Linked DNA regions of Homo sapiens: region 2 is linked to region 1. Evidence: promoter capture Hi-C in 16 types of primary human blood cells and fetal thymus (Javierre and others, 2016). All regions are on one chromosome and are shown on one strand. The core of a region is centred on a gene start or on the middle of the fragment in contact, and the rest is flanking DNA. Distances in the headings are between cores, read along the strand shown.

Region 1 (4,811 bases), core at 1,123-3,622:
CAAACAAGTGTCTTTTACTTAAGAAGAAACTTGGTAATCATTGTGGCACCCACAGCAAGCAGTTGCCTTACCAGTGAAAAAGGTGCACTGAGGTAACATCTAAAACAGAGATGTGGTTCTTAATGTTTAACAGAACAGTTCTAATCCTGCCACGTGTTATCATTATAGATTTTATAGTTGCCTTTCTAACTACTTAGCACAGTTTGAGAATACGTTAATTGCTATTTACTATTTAAAAAGTTTTACTGAAATCAGTCCATAACATTAAGATGAGCCCTAATATGTAAGATTTTCCTCTGGAATGGATGTGAGAAATGTAAATTTTATAACAGCAGTATTTATCCTGGTTTAATTCTAATACGATGTCATGTTAATTTCATGTTGTGATTAATAAAAGCATTTTTTCTTCACTCAGTTTTATATAGGTTCCTGAACTCTATCCACATGCCGCCATAGCAAAAGAGAAACTGAAAAACAAGAATATTTAGCTCTTATCTTAATCGTGTATCATGTGTGTGTTTTAATGGAGTGCCGGTGGCAATTCATGGTTATTATTTGAGTTATGTATACATATAAGGTTACTATTCCATTTGGATAGTAAGCATTCAGGATATGAGTGGAGTTCCTTATATTTTTGAGAATCTTAACTTTGAGGTCTCTAAGGTAATGCTTGAAGGAGGGAGTTACTCTCCTAACTAATCAAGAAAAACTCACGAATCCTGGAGGAGCAATTTTAGAAATGCTTTGAATAAGGAAAAAGAAGTCTTAGAACTATGAGAGGACAGGGGATATAAAAGATTTTATGTTGATAATTTTGATCTAGTAGCCAATTAAGAAATCTAGGGTCTATGAAAATATATGAATAAAAAAGAAAGGAAATGAGTTTAGGTACATCTTAGAAATGGGAATAATTTGTAAATGATGATAAAACCACAAATAGTAATAAAAGGATGAACTTAATACCTTTTTTGGAAAGCTCATAGGCAGATGGCAGAAAGGGGTATATCTTAATGTTATTTAAGGAGTAGTTGGAAAATGAAGAAATGAGAAGATTAGGCACTAGGATCTAGATTAGAAAGGAATTGAATAAAAAGGAAGGCACACAGCATCTAGCCAGCAAAGGATTGAGGTGGAGAGGCATTTTACTACCCATGTACACTGAGTAAGGAGGACAGAAAATCAATAGATTTCAGGAATTAAGAGAAAATTGAAGTATCAGATTTATTTTGCAAAGTAAGGGAAAAACTAGTTGAATGGAATCGTTTTTAGATCCTAGGAAAACCATTCACAAATGATGGAGAAAGGTCGTAGGAAGAATTTGAAAGATAAAGTAGATTGGCAAGAGAGGAAAAATACCTATCTAAGAATGTAAGCAGTGATACACAATGTATACATGTATTGAAACACCACAGTGTACCCCATAAATATGCACAGTTATGCATCATTAAAAAACTTTTTTTAATGTGGATAATGAGCTAGAAGATGAAGTCAGATGAATTCATAGTCCTTATGAGGGGAAGGAAGGCAAAAAACCTCTGGAACTTCCAAAAAGAGGACAAAGGCCTCAGCCTCTTGTTTGCAGAGAATATGGAGGACAAAAGCGTCTTAAAGTTGTGGCTCTTTTTATTCCTGTTTATTAATCCAGATGTACCTCTGTTGTTCTCTTTCCTACAGTGGCGCTGATTTCTAATCTTGGGTCAAAGCCCAGGTTGGTTTTTTAGAAGAGAAGCCCTTAACAGAAGATTCTCTAATCTTATCAACATTTCTGGAGTAGCAGGACTTCTTTTTGGTCTGGAAAGCGGGTTTTAGTTGCTACGCAGAATGTCAAATGTGTAGTTGCACAAGGAAAGGTTGAAAGCCACTGGCTTATTGCCAGGGCAGATGCACGGCAGCCTTTCCCCAGCAGATGGTGCTGTTTCTCCAGACTTGATATGAAGTGTGAGGCTCCACCCCTCCTCCCCCCCTCCCCCAACCCCCGCCCCGTCGCCCGCCAAATACAGCAGATGGAGCTAAGAGAGAGAAAACTATATTTTGTTTATCCTTACAAGCCAAAAGCTTGATGTTGCAAGAGTTGGAGTAGTTTGGAAAAAATGGCAGTAATCCTGAATGAAATCCAACTATCTAATATTCCTTTTCCTCAATAAAAAATTAGTGATTTTTAGCCCCTTTTTCCAGCGGCAGTGTTAAAAAGGGATTGTTTTCAGGGCTTTTTTTATTCCCACGAGTACAAAGTTGAGTATAATATATTCCAAAAGTTTGTTAACCTACCACCTGTGCCCAGATGGCAAAGTGATATTATCCTCAACCTAATATTTAAGAATAACGTGGAGTTTTTACTAAAACACTTGGAGTAACTGACAGAAGTAAAATTTCTACCTTACAAATTCAACCCAAATTTATTCCTTAAATATTTATTAAGCATTTACCTTGCATCCCAGATCTGCTATGAGGGGACAAAGTTCCTCTCTACTCCCATTGTGCATACATTTTTCGAGAAGAGAAACAATGGTGACTAAGACAAGAAAAAATTAGATACTAGTAAGCGCTCTGCAGAGAACACAGGGTAGAATAACTTTACAGGAGGGGTGATGAGAAGGTGACATCTAATCTAAATGACATGGAAGACATGTAGGAAACTAGGAGAACTGGTGTTCCATGCAGATGGAACAGCATAGCACAGATCTAGGGCAAAGCTTGGCCTTTTTCAGGAATTGAGAGCCCAGTGGCTGGATACCATCAGAGAAGTGGGCTGAAGCCAGATGATAGTGCTTTGTACTCCAGTAAGAAGTTTGAATTGTATTCTAAGTATGGTAAAAAGCCCCTGGAGGACTTTGAGCAGAAGATAACCTGAGTGGTTTACATATTTAAGGAATTCTGTATGGAATGGAGAATGGTTTATAAGTGGGCATGACTGCATGCAGGAAGGTGAGTTAAGTATATCAGGGTTGAGTGCTGCAGGCAAAAATCACAAGGAGTTAGGTGTATACAACATCAGTGGAAGAACTGGGAGAAGAGTCAGGGCAACTACCACTGGACTGTGGAGTTAGAGGACACCTCACAGTGGTTAGCTCAGGAAGCCTGCTACCATTGCCACTGTAGCTCATGCCCACGACGCTGGCCAGACTCTGGAATGCCAGGCCCCATTGCTGCAACCTCTCCAAACAGAACACTTCCATCTCTTCTCCAATTAGGGGGTAAAATTGGCACTTGAGAGAGTCAATCTACTGGGTCTGAGAAGGCTGTTGTAGTAATGAAGGTAAGGGATGGTGGTGGCTTGCCTTAGGGTGGTAAAAGCAGAAATAGAAGTGGAAAGATTCAGAATAGGTTTTAGACATGACAGTGACCACTTATTGATTGATTGGATTTGAAAGGGTAACTCTTACATTTTTAGCTTAAGCAACTGGATAGATGATACTACTGGAAAAATAGCAGTGCTGCTGATAATAATGTAAAGCCAATGTAGATCCTGATGTCAACATGACCGAAGAGCAGTTGGATATAAGTCTAGAGTTCAGAATGCTGGCCTGGCTGGAGATCAGATTTGAGAGTTCACTGGCATAGAGATGCTATTAAAAGCCATGGGATGGGGTTGCTTAGGAAGAGTCTGTTGATAGAGAAGAGAGCCTAAACAGCCCGTAGGCTCCAACACTAGAGGTCAAGCCAAGCAAAGAAACCAGCAAAGGAGATGGGAAAGTATTGGGCACTGAGGAAGGAAAACCAGGAGAGTGGCAGGGGAGCCCATTAAAGAAGGAACTATTCAAATTTATCAATTGCTGCTAAGAATTCAGTTGAGAATAGCAGTGGCCCTGCAGTCTAAGTGGAGTGGTGGGAACAGAAGTAAGATTAAGTTGAGGAGGTCAGGAGGGCCTATGAGGTCTAGCTAAAGATTTATCCATTTTGTTGATCTTTTTAAAGAAGAACATTTGGTTTTGTTGATTCTCTATTTTGTTTATTTCCACTCTAATCGTATTTCCTTCTGCTTGCTTTGGGTTTAATTTGCATTTCTTTTTCTAGTTCCTTAATGTGGAAACTTATGTAATTGCTTTGTGAGTTTTTTTTTTCTTTTTTTTTTTGAGATGGAGTCTCGCTCTGTTGCCCAGGCTGGAGTGCAGTAGTGCAATCTCAGCTCACTGCAACCTCCGCCTCCTGGGTTCAAGCGATTCTCCTGCCTCAGCCTCCCAAGTAGCTGGAACTACAGGCACCTGTCACCACGCCTGGCTAGTTTTTGTATTTTTAGTAGAGACAGGGTTTTGCCATATTGGCCAGGCTGGTCTTGAACTCCTCACCTCAGGTGATCAGCTCGCCTCGGCCTCCCAAAGTGCTGGGATTCCAGGCGTGAGCGACTGTGTCCGGCCATTTTCTTTTTTTTTTTTTTTAATGTAGGCATTTACAGCTCTGAGTTTCCCTCCGAGCATTATTTTCACTGTATCCCATAGGTTGAGGTATGTTGTGTTTTTGTTTTCATGTGTCTCAATATATTTTCTAATTTCCTTTGTGATTTCTTCCTTCACCCATTGGTTGTTTAAGTGTTTAATTTCCACATATTGTGAATTTTCCAAATGTCCTTCTGTTACTGATTTCTAATATCATTCCCCTATACTTAGAGAACATACTTTGTATGATTTTGATCTTTTAAAATTTAACAAGACTTTTCATGGCCTAACTTATAGTCTATCCTGGAGAATATTCTTTGTGCACTGGAGAAGAATTTAAATTCTGCTGTTATTGGGTGGAGTGTTCTGCGTGTATGTCTATTAGGTCTAGTTGGTTTGTAGTGTTGTTTGAATCTTCTGTTTCCTTGTTTACATTCT
Region 2 (4,811 bases), core at 1,041-3,540, 570 kb after region 1:
CTGGTCTCGAACTCCTGACCTCAGGTGATCCACCTGCCTTGGCCTCCTAAAGTGGTGGTATTACAGGCATGAGCCACCACGCCTGGCTGAGAACAGACTAATACACATTCTTAAAAGGGATTCCTTCTTCAGGTATTCTTCTCTTTCTCTTTCCCAATAGAGGGAATATGCCATTTATCACACATCAAGATGGCAAAAATCCAAAAGTTTGACATCCTTTGTAGTCAAGGCTGTAGGAAGCTGCACCCCTATATATTTCTGGTAGGAAGGCAAAATGATACCATTCCTATAAAATGCAATTTGGCAATATCTACCAAAATTGTATGTCTATCCTTTGCCTCATTTCTGGTAATGTGTTCTACCTGTACATATATAATGTATGCAAAGGTTATTCATCGCATTGATTAAAAATAACATGTCCTATAAGGATTAAATAAACTAAGGCATACTCTCACTGTGTAATATCCTCTAGCTCCAAAAAGAGTGATTTTGAAAGACTGGACAGCTGGTAAGATGTCCAGCTGTCTTAGTCTGTTTTCTGTTGCTTATACCAGAATACCTGAAACTGGGTAATTTATAAAGAAAAGGAATTTATATCTTAGAGTTATGAAGGCCAAGAAGTCTAAGGTCAAGGGGCCACATCTAATGAGACCCTTCTTGCTGGTGGGGACTTGCTAGAGTTCAGAAGCAGCACAGGGTATCACATGGCAAGGGAGTGACCTTCCTAACATGCTAGCTCAGGTCTCTTCCTCTTCTAATAAAGCCACATGTTCTCTCCCATGACAACCCATTAATCCATGAATAGATCAAGGGTTTTGCCCTCATGATCCAATCACCTATTTAAGGCCCACCTCTAAATACTGCCACATTAAAGATGAAGTTTCAACATGAGTTGTTTGTTTTTTTTTTTTTTTTTGAGACGGAATTTCCCTCTTGTTGCCCAGGCTGGAGTGCAGTGGTGCAATCTTGGCTCACCGTAACCTTCGCCTTCCAGCTTCAAGTGATTCTCGTGCCTCAGCCTCCCGAGTAGCTGAGATTACAGGCACGTGCCACCACACCCAGCTAATTTTTGTATTTTTAGTTGAGACGGGGTTTCTCCATGTTGGTCAGGCTGGTCTCGAACTCCCGACCTCAGGTGATCCGTCCACCTCGGCCTCCCAAAGTGCTGGGATTACAGACGTGAGCCACGGCGCCAGCCCTCAACATGAGTTTTGGAGAAGACAATTATTTCAAACCACAGTACCAGGAAAAGTGCAAAAAAAAAAAACCAAGGCAGAACAATTATGTGGTGTTGCTTGTGAGAGGTAAAATTTTATTTTATTAATATTTGCTTGTATTTGCAGAAATTCTATAAGAATACATGAGTATTGAATGTTATACAAACGCAGGCGACCATATAATCTTCCATTGAAATGGAACGGTTTCTAGAATGAAAGGGAGGATGTTATTATTATTATTATTATTTTTTGAGACCGAGTCTCGCTGTGTCTCCCAGGCTGGAGTGCAGTGGCGCGATCTCGGCTCACTGCAAACTCCGCCTCCCGGGTTCACGCCATTCTCCTGCCTCAGCCTCCCGAGTTGCTGGGACTACAGGGGTGCACCACCTACGCCCGGCTAATTTTTTTGTATTTTTAGTAGAGAACGGGGTTTCACCGTGTTAGCCAGGATGGCCTCGATCTCTTGACCTCGTGATCCGCCCGCCTCGGCTGCCCAAAGTGCTGGGATTACAGGCGTGAGCCACCGCGCCCGGCCGAAAGGGGGGATATTAATCATTACTCCAGGACGACAGAGGGAAAATCGCTTTGTACTGGACAAACTGGAATGTCTGACCAACCATTATAAAGTGCACGGAGTGGGAGGAGGAATAGGGACATTTTAATTGTATTTCTAAAAAGTATCTTCTGTGGTGAATCGGAAACAAAACTCATTCTTTACCACAGGCAGTTTAAGCGCTGCCTGAAAGATCGAAGGACGGTAAACCACAGACGTGAGAAACGGAACTTTGCGAAAACGCAGTCGTTTTATGTACCGGCTACTCATTGGAGTTACACCAGAGACTCACTACTGGAGTTCATCAGCCAATCCAAAGTCCAAGCGTGAGAGCCAGAGCCTGTAGGAGAGACCTGGGCAGGCCTCAGACCTGAGGAGTGGAGCTCCGCATCACTCAACCCTGGGGGCGGAGCTAGCCCAGGCTCCCACACCCGACGCTCTGGCCCACACAGACGCTACTCTGTAGCATCTCAGGTTCCCTCTGGCTGCACTCTGGAGGACCACACTCGTTTTCTTTTTGGCTGCCAGAGGCCCCCGCATCCACCGCTGAGCTGGGAGAAAGATGGCGGCAGCCGTGCGACAGGATTTGGCCCAGCTCATGAATTCGAGCGGCTCTCATAAAGATCTGGCTGGCAAGTGAGTATTTCCCAGGAACGCGGGAGTACAGAGGTGGGGAAAGAAAGCCACAGCCTTAATCTCCTTAGGTTGGCCACGGCTCTTGGGCGTGAAGCTAGGAGCCGGCCTGACGTCCAAGGGGGCGGGCCTGAGGTCGGCTGGGGAGGCAAATGTTGGGAGAAGCAGAAAGCTGGAGGGGACCTTGTGCAGGGGCCTTCGAGGCTATAGACTTGAAATGATTGTCAGCTTGTTCAGTTCTTGATAGAATCTTTCTGGTCCCTTAGGATTTTGGAACAGCGGTCTGAGAGACGACTGCTACCCTGGCCTTAGTAGCCTTCCCTGGTACCTCTTCCCATCGCTGGCCGGCCTCACACCGAATCTGGCCTCTCTTTGGACCTTCCTCCTCTTTTTTTTTGATTCAGAGAAATGTATATTCTGGGGCCTTGATGCTGCGTTTTTCGGGGAGATGGCTTCTTGGGGCTGGCTGAGGTTGAGGCGGTATGGCCGCTGTCATGTCGTCCAGACCATTCAGACTGTCTTCTGTGGGTCCTTGTGTTTCGGGTATTTTCTCTGCCACCAACTCTGATGGCACATAGGCGGAATGTGCTCATATCGTGGGTCAGGATGTCTACAGTAGTGATGTTTGCAGGAATCTGAATTTTGTCGAAATTTATATAGAATGCTTAGGTTCACTCCAAGTTAAAATGTGTGACGTGCCTGTTCTGCAAGCAGTTGTCAACAGTATTAAGCATAGGTAGGTAGACGTATATTGTTCATTTTCTCTTTGTAGATGTCACAGCATTTCTCTTTTGTAATGAACATGCTTTCTGTTTAAAGTATGCCTCTCTAGGCCGGGTGCAGTGGCTCACGCCTGTAATCCCAGCACTTTGAGAGGCTGAGATCACTTGAGGCCTGAGAGATCTGAGAGGGAGGATCACTTGAGGGCAGGAGTTCTAGACCAGCCTGGGCAACATAGTGAGACCCCCCCCCCCGCCGCCACCCGTCTCCGTAAATAAATAAGTAAATAAAGTATGCCTCTCAAGTTGATCTTAATGTTTACATCCTGACAGCTGAAATCACTTTGATGTATATTAATGGGATACACCTGTTCTAACCTGGTCATTGAAATTCTGACTGTTTTAAGTAGGCTAGGCTGCCTTTTCTCTGGTGGCAAACGTAATCTACTTTTATCAGTGGGAAATTCAGCCGTATATTTTGGGCTTAACTACTTTGTGCTGCATTTTCCCACTCAGGAAAATGAAGATAATAATAGGACTTATTCTTGTCTGACATTATCTGAGGACAAGATGAGTATGTGTGTGCATATATACTTACCACACTTATATCACGTAGAACAGTACCTGACATATAGAAAGTGCGGTAAGATTGTTGTTGTTACTATTAAGCTGTCAGTAAATATATATTCACTTATTGTATGGGTTGGAAATAAGTTAAATATGTCTTCATGGCTCAATCCTTTCTGCTTGTAATTTTTATATGGATGAAAGTAAAATCAGCTTATATTTTTCCCCATGCTTCCTTTACTTTTTATTTTGTTAAAGAAGAATAAGTGCATTAGTTATCAAAAGAAATAGAGCTTTGCAAGTATTTGCAGAATTCTGAAACTTAAGTATTTACTTCTTCAGGTCTGAATTGGAGATAAACAATAGTACTTAAAGCGTGCTTCAGTTATCTGTTGCTTTGTAACAAACCAAAAACTTAACCAGTGTAAAACAACTATGATTTCTCAGGATTCTATGGGTTGACTGGACTGCTTTGCTGGTCTTGTCTGGGCTCACTCATGCAGATATAGTCAGCTGGCAACACACCTGGGGCGGGACTCACATGCATATCTTGCTCTTGCCTGGATCTCTCTCTCTCTCTGCACAGTCTCTCATTCAGTAGTTTAGCTTGGGCTTTCTTAGGTGCCTATGAGAGGGGAAGTCGCAAGACCTCTTAAGGATAGCCTAGGAAGTCTCACGTCAGTTCTCTAGTACTGGTCAAAGTAAATCAGAAGACCAGCCCAGATTCAAGGGGAGGGGAAATGGAGCTTACTACTACCTCTTTAGTGGCAAAGTTACATTGCAAAGGAGCCTGGACAGAGGGAGACACGATTCATTGGAAGCCGTTACTGTAGCAGTCTACCACATGGTGTTATTGTGAAGATTAAATGAAATAATGTGCTTGATAACTGATAGCCAGTGCAGTCTTAGCCATAACTCCTTCAGAGCTGCTTTCTGAGAAAAGTCTTGGCCTTGCCTGCATTTCCTATGTGGGCAAGAATGTAGCAGGATATTTATCCTTACAACAACATCAGTTCTACCAGCTATATGCTTTAAGAGAAATACCCTTGAAATATATCAGTGTGTTTTTTTTTAATGTATTTTTTCTTGTATGTACTTTTAATGAAGGTTTTTGGGTGTTTT

Evidence for each region. The method cuts DNA at HindIII sites, captures the fragments that hold promoters and counts their contacts. A CHiCAGO score of 5 or more calls a contact.
Region 2: the fragment with the promoter of COPS4 here is called in contact with a fragment that was not itself captured in region 1 in 4 of 17 cell types (total B cells, total CD8 T cells, fetal thymus and 1 more); the score reaches 7.9 in total B cells.

Annotation. Positions count from the first base shown.
Region 1 is chr4:82,460,678-82,465,488 of GRCh38, forward strand. It overlaps ENOPH1 (enolase-phosphatase 1), which reads left to right. Exons shown (of 6, transcript NM_021204.5): 6 at 1-500. Among named protein-coding and RNA genes, the nearest start is that of ENOPH1, 32 kb to the left of the region's middle. The HindIII fragment of the contact is 638 bases long and covers 2,054-2,691 here.
Region 2 is chr4:83,032,893-83,037,703 of GRCh38, forward strand. COPS4 (COP9 signalosome subunit 4) reads left to right here and starts at 2,291. Exons shown (of 10, transcript NM_016129.3): 1 at 2,291-2,406. The coding sequence starts at 2,333. RefSeq lists enhancers at 1,811-1,930, 2,004-2,298, 2,061-2,410, 2,511-2,560, 2,601-2,660 and 2 more. The HindIII fragment of the contact is 6,632 bases long and covers 1-4,811 here.